2 separate regions of the Homo sapiens genome follow, and region 2 is linked to region 1. The links are contacts of gene promoters, found by promoter capture Hi-C in blood cells and fetal thymus (Javierre and others, 2016). All regions are on one chromosome and are shown on one strand. Each heading gives the region's core, a stretch centred on a gene start or on the middle of the fragment in contact. The rest is flanking DNA. Distances are from core to core; before and after follow the strand shown.

Region 1 (4,647 bases), core at 1,386-3,885:
TGTCCTGTTGCATCAAATAAACTAACATCTACTTTATCCCTATAATGGAAATGATCGGCTCCTTTTTCTTGCTAGTAGAGATAAAATTATAAAGCACGTATTTGTCCATATAGATTTTCCATACTTGAGAGTTTCCCTCAGGAAAAAAATATGCTGAGATTAGGAAACTGGGGCTGTAAGACACCGAATCATTTGTCAACATAATGAGTAAACAATAGAGCCAGAATTTAAAATCGAGTCTTACTGGATCTTAAAATTGAATAGCCTGTACTGTGTTAAGGAAATCTCTGCAATATTTTTAAGTAAAATATATAAAGACATAGGAAAGCAAAAGAAATGCCAAACGAATAAAGACTTTCAGGTCAGTCAAAGGTGGTCAAGAGAGAATATGCAGAGGGAAGAAAATCAAAACACTTGGCAGCAAGTTTATTGCAACATGTATTTCTCAGTCTAAAGATGAAGAAATCTGTAATGGAAAAATTGGCATTTTTTTCTCTAAGGCAATAAACTGCAACTAATCTTATTGGCTAGGCTATTATTGTTTTTTTAAAGTCTCCTACATTTTAAAAGGGAGACAATCTCCACCAGCACCTTCCACACACCTAGAAGCTGGTTATAAATACACAATCTCAGGCCCCATCCCAGACCCACTGAATCAGAAGCTGTATTTTAACAAGATTCCCAGGTGATTCCTTTGCACATTAAAGGTAAAAAAGCTGTTACAACAAAACTGTAGCCCCCCAGCCCATTCAGAGGGTCTCTCAGGTCTCCCTTTTTCCAGTGTTCTCTATTTGAGGGTAGATTTTCTTGCCATGCTTCAATCAAACTAACTTACGCCAATGGATAAAACAGAAGCAGATATAGTTATCTGGTTATCTTCTATTATGCCAGACATTAAGGGAGTTGTAAAAATGTAAAACAATGTCACTCTTTTCACTTTTTTTCTGTTTAGGAAAAGTTATTTTTCATAAAAACTGTTATTTATGTTAACATGTAATGAGCTTCTTATTGTAACTTTTAAATAAACTAAATATCTGTAAAGTTTCTCAGTTATGTAGATACCTTTCGATAACGACAGACGGATAGATATAACCTACATAAACAAAAGTCCTTTGAGGTCCTGTTTAAGAGCATAAGGGAGCCCTGTTATCAAAAAGTTTTGAGGCAGCACTTTGGGAGACCGAGGCGGGCAGATCACGAGGTCAGGAGTTTGAGCCCAGCCTGGTCAATATGGTGAAACCCCCGTCTCTACTAAAAAGATCAGCCGGGTGTGGTGGTGCGTGCCTGTAGTCCCAGCTACTCAGGAAAGCTGAGGCAGGAGAATTGCTTGAACACGGGAGGCGGAGGTTGCAGCAGTGAGCCAAGATCGCGCCACTGCACTCCAGCCTGGGCGACAGAGTGAGACTCTGTCTCAAAAAAAAAAAAAAAAAAAAAAAAGTTTGAGGATCACTGTCTTATAATGTTCCAAGGAAGAGTTAAGTATGTATCCTAAAGAAAAGTCACCTTCTCAGTGACGTCTTCCCAAATCTCCCCAGGAAAAGTAGGCATTTTGTTTCATAGCTCTCAAATAAAATTAGAGTAGCTTACACCAATGCTGTCATTCGCAAATTTGCCAGTTCCTTCACCCTTATTAAATAATGAATTCTCCATGCTTCCAATTTGTTTACCCAGTGAATAGATTTTATGCATCAGACAGTATCTGAAACTTTTGATCATATTATAAACACCACCTTAGTAGTCACTGAACTACTTAGACTCTGTCTTCATTAATCCTCTGTATTTAGTTAGATTTGTTGATATATCTAAAGCTAATTTCCTTGTTTGATGGAACCCTCGCCAGGTCATTTCTAGCCCAGTTTGTCCTGGACAATTCTGGTCCGCGCCGCAGCCCGGGCACTGAGTCCGGGTCCCAAGTTCACTACCGCGCGGCGAGTCTAAGCCGTGGGGAACGCCGGGTTCACAGCTCGAACTGGGACACAGATCGCAGCCCGCGCTCCTGCAGCCGGGCCCAGGGGGTGACCACCTCCTCCCAAAACGCAGGCTCCCGGGTCCCACTGCAGGCCGCTGAACTAGACGGGTTGGATTGGGGCTCCGGAATGAACTTCTGGAGAAATCTTTCGGCTTTCCCCGACGTGGGCTCGGCGGTCTGTTCTCGGGGCGGCACGGCTGACACCCCTTTTTCCTCCGCCCAGATGCTGGTTGCACCCAGTCCGCGGGATCCAGGAAAGGAGGCCAGCTCTAGCCCGGCGCCGGAGTTGGGGAGCACTCCCAGCCGCGCGCGCACCGCCCTGCTTCAAGCCAGCGACAGGAGTGACTCGCTGCCCCACCCCACAGCCTCCCGGCCTGCAGCCGCGGAAGTCCCGGCTGGCACTCACCGCGCGGCGGGCAGCTGGCGCGGCGCACGGTGGCCGCCCAGGACGCGTAGGGACCCTCGGAGAAGGCGTGCGGCCATGTCCGAAACACAGGGGCGGCGGGGCGACGGAGGCGACTCTGCGGCTACTCGGCGACTCGGGGCAGGGTCCCCGGGAGGGAGGACGATCAGCTGAGGCGTCCACCTGTGGTGTCCTCCCAAAAAAGCGCTCGCGCGCGCCCTTCCGGAGCCCCAACCACGCCACAGGCTGGTCGCGAGGGAATACGCCCGTCTTGGCTGTCAGCAATAGGATTTTACAGCGAAACTGCTGCCTTTGCTTGCAGCATTCTTTCTTGTTTATCGAAGCAGCTCTGAGCCTTTTTAGCGTCCTGAAGCGCTTTGAGTAACGGATGAAAGCTATGGAGCCCCCAAATACGCGCAAATACCTAACCATAAAAATGTACGTGAAGTTTATTTTGTAACCTTGGAAATTGATTTACTTAAAGTAGGCTGAATAGTTTGAGCAAACCCTTGAAGGTGATAGAGTTAGCCAGGCATAGCTCTGGGAGCCCATGCTATTTATTGGTAATAGCAAGTAGAACGAATTAATCCGACACAGGATTTAGTAGAGACAGGATTTCACCGTGTTAGCCAGAAAGGTCTCGGTCTCCTGACCTCGTGATCCTCCCGCCTCGGCCTCCCAAAGTGCTGGGATTACAGGCGTGAGCCACTGCGCCCAGCCCGTTCTGTTAATTCTTAAATGTCCAAGTTCAAGTACATCCGTTGAACAATTACTCTCGCCCTCAGTGACATTTCAACTAATAAAAGCATGCCCTGTAGAACTCTCAGGTAAAAGATGTGAAATATCCCTCAAGGGAAACATAAATGGCTCAAAGGGTTCATGAAATCCTGGGTGATTGGCTTAAACTATCTGGGTAGTTTGCTTGACTTTTCATTTAATTTTAGCACAGCTAACTCTACATTCATAAACATATTTGTTCTTACTTCACAAAAGGAAACTCAGTAGAAAAAAACTGATAAACATGCTAACCAAATGTGATTCAAATTAACTTCACCAAGAATGGAACAAACTAGCATTAGAGACACCTGTATTGAAAGGAACACCACATTATTTATATACTGTTGGGAAAAAAGGCTGAGGGTTGGGAAGAAAGCTGAGGCAGGGCTTGCATGACTGACATAATGTCCTCTGGAATGTGTCTAGACTTGCTGGCTCCTTGCTTTTAGCCCTCCTAGGCTCCTATTCCCATTATCTCAAGTAGCAGAACATGTTCCATACAAATGTAAACCTCCATTTACTCACCTGTAAATGAAGAATAACAATATCTATGTCATAGGGTTGTTGGAAAGATTTTTCAGATAACGGAGGTCAGGTGGTTGGCACAAAGACAGGAATACAATAAACATTCGATAAATGGTAATTATTATTGTCATCATTGAGAAATACTCATATTTTGTAGTAGATAAAAGAAAGAACAAATCCTTTAAAAAAACCCTCTACTTTGTGTATTCCAATGCCTATTCAATTAGAAGGCAAATGTTCAAGAAAAGGAACTGCTTATGCTTTTCCTCTGATACCTGGTAGTAAATGTCATGGACTACACGGTCCTTTCTAAACCCCATGAAAATGCCAGCTTCTTTAACCCAAATAACTGCCTGTGTCTGTATCTGTATCTGTATCTGCCTGTTTATAAATGTATAAAAAGTGAGTGATTAGAAATTATATATATATTTTTATATTTGGTTTGAAGAATACCTTGATGACATAATTGAGAAACTGAAATTGGCATCTGTTAAATGTGTCTGAAATATTTTCTTTTCCCTTATAGAGGACAATGGTCTCAAAACTAGTTACTGTTTTATGTTTTGGAACATTTTCTTTAAAAAAATAAATAGCAATTTAAGTATCTGTAACCAACAATTTTGACAGTAAACTTTATTGTCAGGATTAAGAATGGATTTGTTTAAGCTTCCAACTTCAAACCCTAATCTGCTTCTAAATTGCTTCTCTATGAGCCATACCTATAATATAATATGACCAAAATATTAATCATACACATTTATAAGGAAAAACTGCTCAAAGTAAAAGAAAAGTTATAAAATTTATCTTCTAGGGCTCTCCTTTTTTTTTTTTTTATAGTCATTGTATACAGAGCTCATTAGAAAAAGTATTTATTTATTTCCCCTGGTGCAAAGCAAAACTTATCTAATCAAATATAGAAGTGTTGCATAAGTTTTAGTGCATTACAGTCTTAGACTAAAGAAATCTAAGCATC
Region 2 (5,183 bases), core at 1,906-4,405, 240 kb before region 1:
AAGCTTACCTCCTGAGTGCCATTGGAAGGAGGCGATTCTCCAGCCATGTCTCCAGCATGTCTGTACCTCAGGCTGAGGTGGGCATGCTACCCAGCCAGAGGTAAACAGCTATGGTTATACTGTACTCTGCATTTGGGGGCAAAGTTAGAAATTCTGAAAATACACTCCTGTTATTCTACAAAGACAGAAAGAGAAGCAAGCAATGGTAATGTTTTTAGATAGATCATTCCACAAAGGATTTGTCAACTAGGTTCCTGCAGGCAACACTTTGCAGTTTTCTAAGCCAAGCTAGTAGAAGGGATCCCAATTTCCAAGTATTGTCTCTCCTTAAAAATTTTCCATAGACACATGGTCTTCTTTCTGTTGTCAAATGGCATTCTTGTATTTCAGATTTATCATTAGCTAAGCTAATGATGGGTACTTGGCAAGAGTTTGGACCATCTTTATGTTTTTGGTAAAGTTTAGGCTTCTGATATATTATTAGTATTCAGTTGTAGGTAGTGACACTTAACCAAGCAGAAAAGGATCTATGCCACTGAGTGTGACCTTGGGCAGGTCATTTAACCGTAATCCACAGTTCTCCCTCTGTAAAATGAAGAGGTTTGCTAAAATGATCTTTAAGATAACTTCTCATCTATAGTTCTATGATTCCATGACAAAACCCCTTTAAATATTTTGTGTGTTCTCTGTCTCTTAAGAATATAAGTAAAAAAAAACTTCCCATGTATATATATATATACACACACACACACACAATGAAAGTATAATGAAAATGATCTCACATGAGTCAAAACATTTATCTTAAGTAGATAAATGTTTTGGAACCAATGATATTTTCACTTTAGGAATTGAGTTTTTCAAGGAATTGACCTTATGTGATTTTAGTGTGTTGCTTATTTTTAATACCTATAGATTCATTGTAGTACAATTCAGACATGGAAAATAATAAAATTCAGGGCATATTCTGATGTTCACATAAAACCAGTTTATATGTAGGAATAATTACCCTGTACCCAAATCCTTTCGCAAATGGTTCGTGAACTACACAGATGAAATAAAATTTGTGAAATAAAGCCCAAGTTTGGAGAATATCAAAGAATAGGGTAAAATGATAAATCATTAATAAACAAGTTGCATACTTTTTAAGAAGGCAATGTTTTATATAAGTACCATTTAATTATTACGAAGATTAATACTATATAAAGGTTTGTATCATTGTAAGAAATTGTTTTACCTACCATTTGGTAATTTTCCTTTGAAAAGAAAGTCTTATACACAAAAAGTGTGAACAAAATCAAAGCCAAACAATAACATGTCCTAAAAAAGATATAAAGCCACACAAGCAGCTAATATTGGTAGCTATCAGTTATTTTTAATTGCTAGCAATGTGCATGGTTCTATGAAGAATATTTTTAAAAATCAATTATTTGAAAGTTTTATTTAAATTATAGAATTGTAGAAATTTCATAAAGAGGTTTTTCATTGTTATTTACCTAAAATAACCAGGCCATCAATTTCCTTTTTACATATTCATTAAGGGGTCAAGTTGTTTGCAGGGAGAAAATTTGTCCTATTATACATATCTTGATTGTACATTTTCTTGATTTCTAGAAATCAAGAAAAAATAATATAGTTAAATAGTTTGGGCTTCATTCATATTTTGGAAGACTAGCGAAGGTAATAATACTGTCTCTGTACATAAGGGAAAGTGAGTCTCTTCCTAGGGACAGAGGCTGTTTTTATAGTGAACTTTTAGGTGAGCCTCAATTCTTTGGGGCCAGGCACTCCAGTTTTCTAAATGGTTTAGTTCTCTCCAATTTAACGAGTATTTATTGCCTCACAGATGCTTAGCTCAATGCTAGGCACTGAAGGAAGGACAGATAAAGCATGACAGTTTCTGTTCACAAATCTCAGTTCAGCTACATACATATCAATCAATCGATAAACAATTTAATTATTCTCTCACCAACCTGACAGGTTTCTTCTTTTGGCATTTACAATTCAGTCACTAGAGGATGGAGAGTAAGGAGGTAAATGCGAGTTCCATGTGAATTTTCTAAGATATCTTCCTTCCGTTTGTTTACTTGCATTTTCACTGCAAAATTAGCAGGGAAAGTTGTGTTCTTTCTTTACTTTTCTTAATGGCATCAGTTCCAAGAGCTTGGTTGTGGCAGTTCATGGTAAGTGGTTTCTGTGTGCTAATGTTAGAATGCACAAGAAAGAAGCAGGGTCCTGGTCAATGAAACACCATGTACATAAGACAGGTTAAAAATAATCACCACCTAGCCAAATGGTTACCAAAGGAAATGGTAGTTTCATCTTCTACAGATTCATTCTGCAATGTGTTTCAGAGCCTATGGGCCCATTCGGAGTTCATTTTAACTCTTGACCAATAAATAGGTTACTCCTCTGAGAGTTGTATCCATCCAAAGCCCTTCCTCCCCCATTGCCTTGAGTCCTATGTCTTGACAAACCCAGCACAAGGTGAAATGGTTGACTGTCTCCTTTTCCTTCCTTGTTCGGTTAAATCTATTTATTTTTGGTTCTTGGAAGCAGAAAATTGCATGCCTTTTTTCTTTTTTCTTTTTTTTTTTCATTTTCTTTCCCTAAATGCTTCATCTCCCTACCCCTCCTGCAGTGAACCTAATGTCCTCGATGACTCCCAGGGCCTGGCCGCCGAGGGCAGCCTCTCTAGGTACAGTGTCAATGCTACCTGTCTATTGGTGTCTGTGCTGGGAAACTAGCTGTTCCCTGTCTCCTCTGTCTCTCTGTCTTCTCTGTCTCTTCTCGCCCCGTCTTAATATCTATTTCCATTCCTTGCCCTTTGTTGTTCATGAACATATGAGCCTGGAAGTCAAAGGTGTAGCAAACCCTCCTTCATTTTCAGCTTCAGAGCTCAATGTCAATCAAGTAAGCCTGAAAAGCTTACTTTAAAAAAATTATAGAATTCTTTATGGGGCATTTCCCACGGATGTCTAAAAAGTCTGGTATGCCAAATGTTAAATTTATCCCATCTAATTATTCCCTCCCACACTGATATTTATTAAGAATTGTTTTTCAGAGGCCCTTTAATACATCATCAAGAAGCCCCTTATTAAATCAAGACAGGTCTTTTAGCTAATACCATTGATTGTAAGAAAATAGACAATGATGTTATAAAAAGAATAGTAATGTGGATACAATTTATATACTATAATTCCTTCTCTTTGATGCATGCTATTGGGCAGACTTCTATAGTAGCTTGTTCCAGCAACACTTATACAAAGAATGTCTGTTCTAGCACAAAGGTGACTCCAAAACTTGCATGAAATATCAGACACAAACAGTTCTTGGTAAGTAAGAGAAGTCTTATGATGCAAATAATGTAATGTCTTGGCTATTGGTTTAAAGCTTCAGAAAAGGGGACTGCACCTTTAACACTCAGATAAACCACGTCAAACATTCCTAATCTTGTGCTGTTGATTCACACCTCTCAACTAATCCTCATTAGGGGTAAGGCTTCTTGTTCATCCTTAGAGTATCTTTGTGCCATCTCAAGAGATAACATTCCCTTTCAGGTTTGCACTATCTAGTGAGTACAATACACCCGTGTTTATTGCTTTATCACAAAGATGAGGAAATGTTGAGAGGCTGTTCCTGTGAAAGGTTGTCTTTTGTTTTCTTTGCATCTTGTTCAGATTTCACATTTTCTTTTGCAATTGAAAATGGGAAATTTAGTCCATCATCGGGTGTATTTTTTTTTTAACCAGACCCATAATTCATGACATTCGTGTTTGCCAGCCCTTGCCTTGACAGATCAGTCTCTTATTGGTGGTAAATGTGGAAGTGCTGCAGAATGCAGACTTAATTCCATTAGCAGGAGCTTTGGGGGCAAGGAGGAAGTTGAGAAACAAAACAGTCCTCAAGAGGGCTTCCCTTTATTCACGGTGTTGGAAGAGATCTGAACCAAGTCTAGCAGAGTGTTCATTCTTTCAAAGAAAGCAGGTATTTAATGTTTAAAATTACATGTGTGATGGGAACCTTGATTAGAAGACAATTTCAGTGGCCTACTGAGAGTAGAGAGTATTGAATCAGACTTCCACTTAGCTAGCTTTGTGCTGGGGCTTTTCTAATTAGGCCAAATTCTACTCTTGATGAGTAAGGATTGGTGAGAGAAGGCAGGAGTTTGAGATTGTTTTTATGAACTCTCCCAAGTATTTGGCCCTCTCTGGTAGGCTCAGGGTTCAGAGGACCTATTTGTAGTTTTCTAAACCAATTCAGTGTGTCCTGGTTCCAGTGTCAATGGAAATATACACAAAGTTTTTGGTAGGTGAGACTGGTTCAGAGCCAAAGCTATTGATTTGTCTACAGCTGAATTAGTCAGTCATGGTAGTACTTTGATGACTGTCTTAGATCAACTGCCGTTGATCCGTTGTTTCTGTGACCATTGTGTTTTAGTTCTGGGTGTGAGTCACCCAGACCCAGTTGTGGTCATTAAGAAATGGGAAGATGAGGCATTCACTTTGGCTTCTGAAATAATTCTAATAGCACAGAGGCTTTCTACCAACCAGTAGCACATCCACCTTTGCCATACCCTGCAAATTGTATCTCTTGAACTACATCACGTCACCAAGTTCTCTTTGGAGGAGAGGAACTTTTGGCATTTACTAGGAGGTTGGTTTACAAAATAGGATATATACTTTTTATATTTAGTTTCCAGACTTTCTTATTTTTGGCATGAACTTCCTTTAAGCTGCAGACTCTTAAAATCCTGAAGTAGTAAGGCATTAACCAGGTAATGACGCTTAACATACACTCCAACACTGAGGACCTAAAATACACCCAAAGTAGTCCTGATGAAAATCTGGCCTTAAAGCTTAGAGAATATCAGGAAGCATATCTAAGGGAAAATAATAAACTCTGCTGCTCCCATGCTCTTACAACATTTTACCAAACTTGCATGAGAATTTCCTTTTGAAAGGACATTTGTTTTAGACAAAAGGGGTAAGTTGGATGGAGTGGGCTAAATAAGGAAGAGACCAAGATAACCTGATGAATAGGTGGAAATCAATAAAAATTTGCCATACCTATAGAAAATTACTTCTAGGATTTTTTTTTAAATGTGCTAACTGGTTTCTTTTAGATTCATCCCCAGAAATAGCCTATTAGAAACACTATGCTTTGCAGAAAAGATTCTTTGTATT

What was found. Contacts are between HindIII fragments. The CHiCAGO score rates a contact against its expected background, and 5 or more counts as called.
Region 2: a fragment that was not itself captured here is called in contact with the fragment with the promoter of ACADL in region 1 in 10 of 17 cell types (activated CD4 T cells, megakaryocytes, total CD4 T cells and 7 more); the score reaches 7.9 in activated CD4 T cells.

Annotation. Positions count from the first base shown.
Region 1 is chr2:210,222,812-210,227,458 of GRCh38, forward strand. It overlaps ACADL (acyl-CoA dehydrogenase long chain), which reads right to left and starts at 2,636. Exons shown (of 11, transcript NM_001608.4): 1 at 2,376-2,636. The coding sequence starts at 2,452. The HindIII fragment of the contact is 4,947 bases long and covers 1-4,338 here.
Region 2 is chr2:209,982,218-209,987,400 of GRCh38, forward strand. It overlaps UNC80 (unc-80 subunit of NALCN channel complex), which reads left to right. Exons shown (of 65, transcript NM_001371986.1): 60 at 1-100; 61 at 2,639-2,695. Among named protein-coding and RNA genes, the nearest start is that of RPE, 18 kb to the right of the region's middle. The HindIII fragment of the contact is 466 bases long and covers 2,923-3,388 here.